Linked DNA regions of Homo sapiens: all the other regions are linked to region 2. Evidence: promoter capture Hi-C in human tissues and cell types (Jung and others, 2019). All regions are on one chromosome and are shown on one strand. Each heading gives the region's core, a stretch centred on a gene start or on the middle of the fragment in contact. The rest is flanking DNA. Distances are from core to core; before and after follow the strand shown. Region 1 holds the start of PCED1B-AS1 (PCED1B antisense RNA 1). Region 2 holds the start of SLC38A2 (solute carrier family 38 member 2). Region 3 has its middle 80 kb from the start of SLC38A4.

Region 1 (3,641 bases), core at 288-2,787, 840 kb before region 2:
TGCCAACTTAAAGTTTCAGATAAAATGGAAAAACTGAAAAGTACTTACTCATTAAAGTAACTGGTGATTTTTAAGCATCTCTCTCAGTTGATTCTAGATCTCGTCCCTAGATAGCTTTCTTCCTCTCCTGTAGATCATTGTGACCAGACGGGAGATCTCAGAGCTTGGGCTATAGGGGAAATAGGTTAGCCTCTGGGTGCTGCTGTGCTTGCAAGCCAGCGTCTGGGGAGAAGATGACATTTCCGGTGGCATCTGGGGCAAACGACACAAGTCAGCATTTAGTTTCTTGCTTTAGGAAGCGGAAGACTAATGACCGAAGCTTCAAGACTTTGACATGTGTGAAAACATGAAATGGTAAGTCAATACAAAGACAGCATCTTCCTGGAATTTGGTTTTGAGCTTGTTTTCATTTCACCTTTCTCAGTAATCTGGGTGTAGCTTATTTTGACTCTTCCTTTGATTAAACAATTCAGACCCTTGGCTCTTATTGTTCTTGCTGGTGTGGTATGTTCACGGCTGAAAAGATGGTCAGAAGGGGAAAGGAGGAAGTGAGAAGAAAGAAACAGGGAAATGGTAAGAAGAACTCTACTTTTCTAAATAATATTTAATAGTAGTAATCTTGTGTTTCTGTGCAAGGTGTTACAGTTTACAAACCGCTTTTATTTTTATTTATTTATTTTTTTTGAGACGGAGTTTTGGTCTTGTTGCCCAGGCTGGAGTGCAGTGGCATGGTCTCGGCTCATTGCAACCTCTGCCTCCCAGGTTCAAGCGATTCTCCTGCTTCAGGCTCCGAGTAGCTGTGACTACATGCACCCACCACCACACCCGGCTGATTTTGTATTTTTAGTAGAGATGGTGTTTCACCATGTTGGCCAGTCTGGTCTCGAACTCCTTACCTCAGGTGATCCACCCGCCTTGGCCTCCCAAAGTGCTGGGATTATAGGGGTGAGCCACCATGGCAGGCCACAAACCGCTTTTAAATCCTTTCACTTCATCTCTCCACTGACGTCTTGATGGAAAAATGGCTCAGTCCACACTACAGGAAACCACAGGCCTGAGCCCCAGCCTCAGCTAGATCCAGTATGTGGCAGAGCAAGATAAGAACTTTCTGCTTCCTCCCTTAGTGTTCCACTTGAAACCAGCAGGTAACTCAAGGGGACAGCGTGCTTAAAAGGGAGATGGTTCGTCTGGCGCTGTGGCTCATGCCTGTAATCCCAGCACTTTGGGAGGCCGAGGCGGGTGGATCACCTGAGGTCAGGAGTTCGAGACCAGCCTGGCCAACATGGTGCAACTCCGTCTCTACTGAAAATACAAAAATTAGCTGGGCGTGGTGGTGGGCCCCTGTAATCCCAGCTACTCGGGGGGCTGAGGCAGGAGAATCGCTTGAACCCAGGAGGCGGAGGTTGCAGTGAGCCAAAATCGTCCCATTGCACTCCAGTCAGGGTGACAAGAGCAAGACTCCATCTTTAAAAAAAAAAAAAGGGTGGGGGAGATGGTCTTCTGATTGATTAGATAAGTGTAGGCATTTGTTTTCTTTTGTCTGGAATAATATGATTTCGGGGAGAGGAATATCACTTTCCCTACAAATACCAAGATGAAAAAGAAAAGGAAATAATGAATCAGAAAAAAAAGAGAGAGAGAAAATGCATGACTACAGAAGGTCCCAGTGCATGACTACAGAAGATCAGAATATACCACCCCCAGGTTCCCGTAATCCCAGGTCCTTGGGAGGCTGAGGCAGGAGAATCGCTTCAACCCAGGAGGCGTAGGTTGCAGCAAGCCGAGATTGCGCCACTGCACCTCAGCCTGGGCAACAGCGAGACTCCATCTCAAAAATAAAAAATATGCCACCCCAAAATATAGTTATTTGGCATATTTCGAGCTGATTATTCTGAGCAACTGCAGACACAAGAGTATCTCTGAAAAGCTGTCCTTTTGTAAAATAAATTTATATTTATAAAAGAAATCTACATTAGTCAAAGTATCTGTATCAGGAAGAGTCCTGCTCTCAGACAACTTTTATTACCTGGGGGATTCCAGTGTGTGTGCATATAATTAAAAATGTTTTTTCCTTTTCTTTTCTTTTTTTTTGAATTGAGATTTGGTCTCAATATGTTGCCCAGGCTGGTCTTGAACTCGTGGGCTCAAGTGATCCTCCCACCTCAGCTTCCCAAAGTGCTGGGATCACAGGCATGAGCCACCGAGCCTGGCCAAAAATGTTTTTTTCTCCTGTTAATCTGTTTTATGTCAATTTAATTTGTATCCCAGCCAAAGAACCTAGAAGTAGGGAGGAAGCCATTTTCCCTCCCTTACAGCACAAAATAACTAACCAACAAGAGTAAGAGGTTTCACAACAGTCCTGAATTACATGCTCTGAAGACTTAGCTTTTTTTAATAGTATGCTATTTATGTAAACTGGATTATAATGTGACATAATTGTCTTTCCTTGAAAAATATCATTTTACTTTACATCACTGTCTATTCAGTGTGTGGCTTAAAATTAATTCCATACCTTATGCATTGTTTTCATCCTCTATGGCCATCAATAAAGTTATCTTGCAGTTCCCCATGAGTTTTAGTACAGTCATTACCGGGAAATTTAATAGAATCAAGGCAGAACCCAACTGATAGCTTTAGTATTTTATAATCCAGAGTAGTCTATTACATAACTTTGAAAAATCTGCCATTATTTAGTTCTAGCAATTCTATAAATGAATTGCAAATCTTTCTAGTTCTGTAGATTTCAGCTAGTCTGTGCACTGTGAGAATAAAAGGACAATCTCTGTAATCATCCCAAGACCAGAGAACAGAAGAGCTGTAATAATGCAAATGATAATCACACTTATACTCTTTAAACTTAAAATAAAGTTGAGATCAACAGATTTTCAACTGATTTTCTTGCTTTCAAGAACTTATTATGCTCTATGTAGACAGCTACTATTGCTATTCTGGCCCTATCTCATGTTTCAAAGCTCAGTGAGCCATCTTTTATTTTTTACCCACCAAACTTGGCTTTTTCTTAAACAGTAATGACAACTTATGCACATATAATGTTTTACCCTGTGAATGTGCTTTCACACACAGATATCCTTTACTATTAGCAGCTCATTAGTAGTTATAGCCACAGAGAAATTTAAACTTTGCTTTATGCAAGCCATTACCATTTTATCCACATTTTCTATCTTAAGGAACGCAATTATTTTTCTTATCTTCTTGGGAATCCTATAAGAGGGCCAGAAATCAGCCCATTAAATATATACATATATATACATTAATTTCAGCTGGCTCGTGTGTGTATGTGTTTAAATCTATTCCTGGGCTGCCTTAAACGAATGGGCCAAATTTGGCAAATCACAAAACTATGTTTTTTTCTTTGGTTGTCTGACTTAAACAGTCCACATATTTTTGATAATTTCTCTTCAAAGCACTCACAATTAGTACTTTCAAGCACATATGAATAATGAATAATTTGTTTCTATTAGGGTACGAAATCTTCTCTGATAACATATTAGGAACTTTGAGATTCTGGATTAAAACTTCTCATGAGTTCGATTTAGTAACAGAACTAAATTTTGCACGAAGTATGTGCAAACTTTGTGTTGATGAACAAGGCAATACTTATTGGGATTTGGGATGTTACA
Region 2 (3,841 bases), core at 1,067-3,566:
ATCACTATCCACCACTTGGTCCCATTCTGAAAGTTTAAAAAATGCTGCTCTTCTAGAACATTAGCTTAGAAATCAAACAAAATTATAGCGCACTGACCAATAGGTATTTGGCAATATCGTTTCCCAGAAATTGAATGAGGACACTGTGTCCAATGCATTCAAGCCCAAAGCATAACAGCAATTGCTCAGAGCACATCAGGCCTCAGTTGGAAGTCTGATGGAGTTAGCAGGCATGCCTCAGTTTGGCCCTCGAAAAGACCAATCAAACTGGCAATAAAAACATGGAAGTTTCACCCCTCCACCCTTCTTTTTTTGTCATTTACTGTTCAAGTTCTGATCATACAGAGACCAGATCAATATTGCAGCTCCCCCCCCCGCCCCTGCCCTCCACTTTGCCCTCAGCTGTACAGGTATTGTGCTTCTCCTAAATATGTGTTGCAATACAAACCACCAAAAAGTCCAAAAGACATGAGATTTACTTATAGTGCCACTTGCCACCCATAACTACCAACCCTGAGGGCCTCCTTAGCACCTCTAACTGGGCAGAGGAAACGACCAGAGATTCATCTGGAATGAAAAAGTGGTTTAAGACCTTTTGATTGTTATCAGTTGAAACCTAATATAAAGAAACTTCCTGGGACTCCTCTCTAACCTACCACTACCAAGATTGTTGTGACAAGAAGAGTTGATTGATTTTATTGGGGAATGTATGTGGAAGGAAGATAGTTTTTTCAGCCCTAATTGTGTGTCAAATTCCAAACCTGCCCTTGGGGAGTTCACAATCTTTGGGCAGATGATACTACAAATAGTCTGGAACGATTTTGAGTGCATGACAGCACGGATTTTTAAAAGTCCGTCACCATATTGTTTTAGAAAATAGTACCTGCAAAAAGAGGGCTGAGTACGGAGGGATTAAGGCATGCGGGGCGCTTTCCTGTGGCTCGAAGACTAAGCCTTGCATGACAGCGGCATTTAAGGGGATGAGAGGAGATTGGACACCAAAGCAAGAATGGCTATTATTTAAGACTGGCCTGAACAGAGTAGAAGGTTTGCGGTAGGGAAGACTGGCCTGAACAGAGTAGAAGGTTTGGGGTAGGGAACACAGGAGTGTGATGGGGGAAATCGGGACCTCGCTTGTCAATCATAAACACTGGTGCAGGCGAGGGCACCCGAAGCCTCACGTGCGGCGGAAATAGGCAGTTGTACGGATTTCCTCAGTAAAACATTGAAAGCAAAAACTGCGATCACACCCAGCCCTTTCCTCTATGCCCTGCCCAATTTCTCCCAAGTCCCCAAAAGGAAGAGAGCAGTAGGTCAAACTTGTTTATTCATTCATTCCATGAACATTTCTCTCTCCTAAGGGGTCTTTGTTTCCTGCAAGGGAGTGAGTCTTGCCTTTCCCGCAGCACCAATTTTTCCACAGCGAAGGGTCCCCCTAGTTGCCTGGCTCAGCAAGACCACACACATCACCATTGAAGGGAAAGGACCAGGCTCCGCAGAAAGCGCCTCAGACCCGCATTCAGACAAGGCAGTGCCTTTGCCCGGGGCGGCGGTGGTGGGATAAGAGAAGCAACGTGTCAGCGAGTGGAAAACTGGGGACTCCCAAACGGCCTTAGGAGCGCCGGGCTCCCCACTGGGGCCTCTTTCTAAGGGGCCTGGCTTGCTGGCCAAAAGGTAGCCTTTCCGCTAGTCCAGTTTCCATGGCCGTACAAAAAGCACATCCCGAAAAGGAGCTGCTCGCCGACCTCCGGCTAGTTTTGAAGAGTGAAAGCAGGTCTAGGTGGAAAAGAAAGAACAACAAACCATCAGGACAACCTTGCTGCCTTGGCCCAAGTTTGTGAGACAAAACTTCACTGTAAATCACAAAAATAACAATCAAGAAAGTGTTTGGTGGGAGGGTGGTGTCCCCCAAAAGCCTTGATGTGTCCCCCGAAAGCAAGGACTGCTGGTGACTCGGACAGGAGAAAATTTTAAGGAGATGGCTCCTCAAAGACAACCGCATGTGTTGAGCACCAACCCTGGCTGAAAAGGATAGGCAGGGGAAGCATCTGGGGGTCTTTCCAGACTATCTAGAAAGCTGGAGAGAGTGGGCTTGGGCTTTGCGGGAGAGTCTTGGGGGCGCCTGCGGGCGGGGCTGGGCCGCGGGCGCGGGCCGCAGAGGGAGGGGCAGGGAGGCGGGGCCTAGGTCTGGGCGGGTCGGAGGCGGGGCCCAGGTGGTGTTGATACACAAAGAGAAGGCGCCCGGGCGGCCGCGGTCCCGCCCACTGACGCGTCCCCGGGGTGCCGCTATAACCCGCCGCTCGCAGGGCTGCTCCACAGCCGCGCGACGCCGCCGCCTTAGAACGCCTTTCCAGTACTGCTAGCAGCAGCCCGACCACGCGTTACCGCACGCTCGCGCCTTTCCCTTGACACGGCGGACGCCGGAGGATTGGGGCGGCAATTTGTCTTTTCCTTTTTTATTAAAATTATTTTTCCTGCCTGTTGTTGGATTTGGGGAAATTTTTTGTTTGTTTTTTATGATTTGTATTTGACTGAGAGAAACCCACTGAAGACGTCTGCGTGAGAATAGAGACCACCGAGGTAACGCGTGCGGGGGGGCGTCTGTGGGAAGGGCGCGGGGCCCGGGCGAGAGTGGGGGAGGGGCTTCCGGGAGGGGCCGCGCGGGAAGGCGGCCGCGGGGTCCGTTTCCTTTCGAGGCGGGCGTTGTCGGTTGGGCTGGCCAGCCTTCCACCCTGGCCCGCCGCGCGGGTGTCGCGCCCGCGACGTGGGTAGGAGAGCGGGCGCTGGGCGGGGGCCGCGTGCCTGCACGGTGCGGAGCCGCATCTTCCCATTAGGGGGAGGGGAGCTAGCCCGGCCAGCGGCTCTGCTGCGGCAAGTCTTGTGACTGATTTGCATTTAATAAAAAAAAAAAATTAAGTCCAGGGAGCCAGGAATCTGGGGGCGGCGGAGGTGGGCTTGGGCATGTATTACAGGAGAGGCCAAGATTGGGGAAGACGAGTTGGGAACATTTGACAATCGACGATCGATATTGCATCAGTTTTCTTTCCGGACATAGGAGGGGCTGGGCGGGCGTAGCACTCGCGGGCCAGCTGCCTGTGGACGGGTGTGCTTGAGGGCACTGGCGCGCGTGTGTAAACAAACCCCCAGCTCCCGGGGCCCGGGCGTTCGCCCCCCTCGAGAGAGGAGTAGTGTCGGCCCTTTCCGCCTCCTGGGGAAGGCTGTCTGCGGCAGAGGCATTTCTCCGTGTGGGGACTCCGGGCAGTAAAGGACAGATTACGCAGCATTGCTGTTCCAAATGCTAGAAACGGAAAGCCGTGCGCCTAGGTTGCATGCACACGAGCCAGGGTCGGGGCTGGATGTGTGCCCTGAGTGCCTGTGCAAGTTTGGAGCGACTGGGAAAAAGCAAAACAGAACCCCCCCTCGCCCCCTCCACTCCGACGAGGGACAATAGAGAGGGTGAAATACTGAAATCTGCCGGAGTAGGGGGCCTCGACGGCCGCAACACAGCGGTGGCATCATCTTTGTTCTCCCCGCGGCTCCGCCGTCTGTACTTTTCCGCCCCTCGGCGCGCCCCCGCCCCTCGCGCGCGGCTGGTACTTTTCCACTCGCCTGGCCTGGGATGAATCAGCCGCGCTGCGCCTCCGGGCGGCGTCACGTGACCGCGGCGGGCTGGCGCTGCGGTCCTGACGCGCCGCCTCTACTTTCGCAGGCCGACTCGCGGGCCGCTGCACCCACCGCCAAGGACAAAAGGAGCCCAGCGCTACTAGCTGCACCCGATTCCTCCCAGTGCTTAGCATGAAGAAGGCCGAAATGGGACGATTCAGTATTTCCCCGGATGAAG
Region 3 (3,620 bases), core at 750-3,249, 530 kb before region 2:
AACTTTTGAAAGAGCTAAGGTTCTCAATTTTGTTACCATCCATGTTTATTTTTTATATACATCTTATTGTTGCTGTGATCAAATAGACAACCAAGTATTGTTTCTAAGACACCTATGATTCTATCTTAACCAACTGTCCAAATTTCCTCTGGCATTAAAAAAATTTTTAACTTTCTAAAAAAGGGGTCCTAAATATAGAAAAAAAAAAGCCCACAAAACGTTCAGGCCATCTTTTATACCTAAAACTATCTTTGAGATTTCCCAGATAGCCCCTGGAAAATTACAGATATTGTTTCTTTTAGTTTATAAAAAGAGAGATGCTGGAAATTAACTAGATTTGTTTGATGAGTTGCATGGGAAGATTTGTCAAATCAAGAGAGACATTTAGCCATCCCTGTGCTAACATTGTATAGGTAAAATTTTATTAATATTAATTTATCAGAAATTGTATGTTTTATGGTGAAGCCCTGGTATTTGTCAATATTTTCACTGTCCACAATATATTTTAACCCTAAGGAATAACACTGATAAAAACTCTAAGAAATAATTGTGTCAGGTTTTCCTATACTTACGAATCCTGGTAGTGCTTTACCTGTCTAATGAGCTGATGATTTCAGGCAACCACTGCATAATCAGTAATAATATTAGTAATTATTTAAAATTGTACTTGGATGAAACCTTATTCTTTTAATTTTAATGTAGTATTTCTAGTCTAGTAGCTCTCAATTGGGGATGCACATAAGACTTACTTATAAAGTGTTATAGCAGTACAGCTCTCTACACCCTACTCCAGACTTACTGAATCTTTTCACTTGTTATTCTTGGTATATTAGAAGTCAGGATAATTGTATACTATATCTCAAGATTTTTTCTCTATAAAAATTGTTTACCCATTTGTATAAATCAGATGTAACATTCATTGACAATAGACTTAATTGTTGTCAGGCACAGAAAGACAAATATTGCATGTTCTCACTCATACATGGTAGCTAAAATGGTTGATCTCATGGATGCAGAGAGAAGAATGATGGTTACCAGAGACTGGGAAAAGTAGTTGCGTATAGGAGGGGAGGGGTTGGTTAGTGGGTACAAAAATACAGACAGAAGGAATAAGATCTTGTATTTGGTAGCAGAATAGGGCAATGCAGTTCAAAATAATTTATTGGATATTTCAAAATAACAAGAAGCATGGAATTAGAATGTTTCTAACACTAAGAAATGAAGTGTTTAAACTGATAGATATCCCAATTACCCCTATTTGACCCCTACACATTTTATACTTGTATCAAAATATTACATGTATCCCATAAATACTACAACTATTTATTGTGTATCCATAAAAATTAAAAAATAGACAACTATTATCCCCAAAAATATTTTATCAAAAGCAATTTAATGGCAATGTGGAAGTAAGACCCATCTTCTTCATATGTCCCACCACACTCAAGGGGAGGTGATTATAAAGGGTAAGTGCACCACTGAGCAGGAATCTTGGCAGCCATCTTACTTCCCAATCCATCCCCATCAATACTTAAATCAGTGGAAATGGTTTTTTTAATCTTTAATTTATAGTTCAGTTGCCACTTTCAATTTTTTTAGGATTTATTTCTTTTTATAACTTCTCATAATTCAGGGTTGGAAGAGACATAAAAGTGATGTCAGGCTTGTCCGCTTTGTGACCCACACTCTGCTAGTTGTCCTCTCTGCTTCTTCCTGCCTCTGCTACTCCATCTCAGCCTCATTCACTAGTTCTTTGAAAATCCCTTAATATTAATATTCTCTGGGGTTCCATCCTCATCTCTCTGTTGGGAAAAGCTGAGTGTTGGGAGAAGCTGAGGCAGGGCTTGCATGTCTGACATAATGTAAAAGAGTCTTGGAACATGTCTGGGGTACAGAGCCTAAAACCCCTTGTGGCCTTTGGAACACCAAGCTCTGTGCTAAAGTGTGGAAGGCTACCCTGACACACCATAATCTAAGCCCAGGGCATAAAACCCCTCATGGCTTGAATAGAATCCAGGGCTCATGGCTCTGGAATGTGTCTAGACTTGCTGGCTCCTTGCTCCTTGCTCTCCCAGGATCGACTGTATCTTGAGTTAAAAGAACCTGCTTTCCATTATCTCAAGCAGAAGAACATGTTCCATGTGCCGCAAAGGAAATGCTAAACCGTCACAGCTGTAGATCATGTGCTTGCCCTTTCGACCCCCACATTCTCACACCCTGTTTCTTTGTTTGATCACCAATAAATAGTCTGGGCTTCCAGAGCTCAGGGACTTCACAGCCTCCATACTTAGTGTTGGCCTCCTGGACCCACTTTTTCTCTGAAACTGTCCTTTCTCATTCCTTTGACTCCACCGGACTTCGTTGCCCCCACGACCTGATGTCGGGCCCGATCACCCCAACATTCCTGGCTGCCCAGTGTGGGGCAGCAAAGACCCCAGTGAAGGAACGCTAGAGTGTGTAAAAGCAGAGGATGCATTGTCAAAGGACACCCGAGGACGACTGAAAGAAGCTTGGTGGGAAAGCTGAGTGCTCGGAAGAACCGGGGTGACAATGGGACAAAGTGAAAGCAAACATTCTGCTTACTTGAATTTCTTGAGGCATTTATTATGAAGAGGGTTAGGCACGGGGTAAGACCCAGTGGAATCTGAGGCTTGTTTATTCAGAGGGCTCCATTTAGAGAAAAAGAAGAGAAAGTGAGGACTTAGAAGGAGCCTGGGCAAGTAAAGTCATCTTGAAGCTTCAGTTTCATGGTTAACCTGCCTCTGCTAGAGAAAAACAGATTTAATGAGTACAGAGGCATGATATGGGCTGCATGTAAAGAAATTTGGACTCAAGGCCCCAAGGAATATTTGTCTGAATTGTGGAATATGCTTGAAATTGGTATGTTAGCAATTTTTGCAGCATCATTCATTGCAAGATTCAGGGCATTCTGGCCTGCTTCCAAAGCCCAGAGCATCACTGATGAAAAGACAGAAATAAAGAAAGAGGGAGACACACTCAGAAAGAGGGCCAGAGAACACCCTGCAGGCAAAACCTCTAACAGAGCCATACAAGATGGGAATCCGGTTCAGAATTATGGTGTTCTGAAATCACAAAACTACCAAACTAATAAGGCTTAATGAGTCAGTATAAAAAGAACGAGTCTTCCCAGTTTGCGTTAAGCACATTTTTTGTTGTTGCTACATTTTGTCCTGCATATTAAAATAAATGAAATAATGTACTTAATGATGTGTTTGATAACCATGCAAAGCAGATAATAGCTGACTAGACATCTGTATAGTGCCACTTCCAAAGGCCAAAGTATCCTTCAGATCTTAAGGCTACCTTAGTCAATGGAAGTTTTCTCAAAGTCTCTCTACACTTGTCTACAGTTTTGAATGTGAATTACTGCACCAGAATCATAGGAAATCAGCTGTTAATCACACAAAAAGTCTCAATCTTTGACTAACATTTTTAAAAGGAAGTGACATTATTTTTCTCTACTGAAACTTGTTCTGCTTCTCTCCCTAAAAATATACGCCAGTTGCTAAGTATTCAGCATTGACTTTTCTACCACAGAATACCCATAACAACAGTAATAATCGCCTGCATTTACCGAGCACCTGATATGTGCTGGGTAT

The links. The method cuts DNA at HindIII sites, captures the fragments that hold promoters and counts their contacts. A contact is called where the count stands out against the background at its distance.
Region 1: a contact is called between a fragment that was not itself captured here and the fragment with the promoter of SLC38A2 in region 2, in 1 of the 25 tissues and cell types used here (lymphoblastoid cells).
Region 3: a contact is called between a fragment that was not itself captured here and the fragment with the promoter of SLC38A2 in region 2, in 1 of the 25 tissues and cell types used here (mesenchymal stem cells).

Annotation. Positions count from the first base shown.
Region 1 is chr12:47,213,097-47,216,737 of GRCh38, reverse strand. It overlaps PCED1B (PC-esterase domain containing 1B), which reads right to left. Exons shown (of 4, transcript NM_138371.3): 3 at 49-516. PCED1B-AS1 (PCED1B antisense RNA 1) reads left to right here and starts at 295. Exons shown (of 3, transcript NR_026544.1): 1 at 295-354; 2 at 474-573. The HindIII fragment of the contact is 5,909 bases long and covers 1-3,641 here.
Region 2 is chr12:46,371,248-46,375,088 of GRCh38, reverse strand. It overlaps SLC38A2 (solute carrier family 38 member 2), which reads left to right and starts at 2,316. Exons shown (of 16, transcript NM_018976.5): 1 at 2,316-2,580; 2 at 3,710-3,841. The coding sequence starts at 3,796. SLC38A2-AS1 (SLC38A2 antisense RNA 1) reads right to left here and starts at 2,306. Exons shown (of 2, transcript NR_187299.1): 1 at 2,227-2,306; 2 at 1,311-1,776. RefSeq lists enhancers at 1,757-1,816, 2,497-2,576, 2,434-3,137, 2,827-3,156, 3,237-3,386 and silencers at 2,067-2,406, 2,607-2,806. The HindIII fragment of the contact is 23,415 bases long and covers 1-3,841 here.
Region 3 is chr12:46,903,908-46,907,527 of GRCh38, reverse strand. No RefSeq gene overlaps it. Among named protein-coding and RNA genes, the nearest start is that of SLC38A4, 80 kb to the right of the region's middle. The HindIII fragment of the contact is 3,394 bases long and covers 303-3,620 here.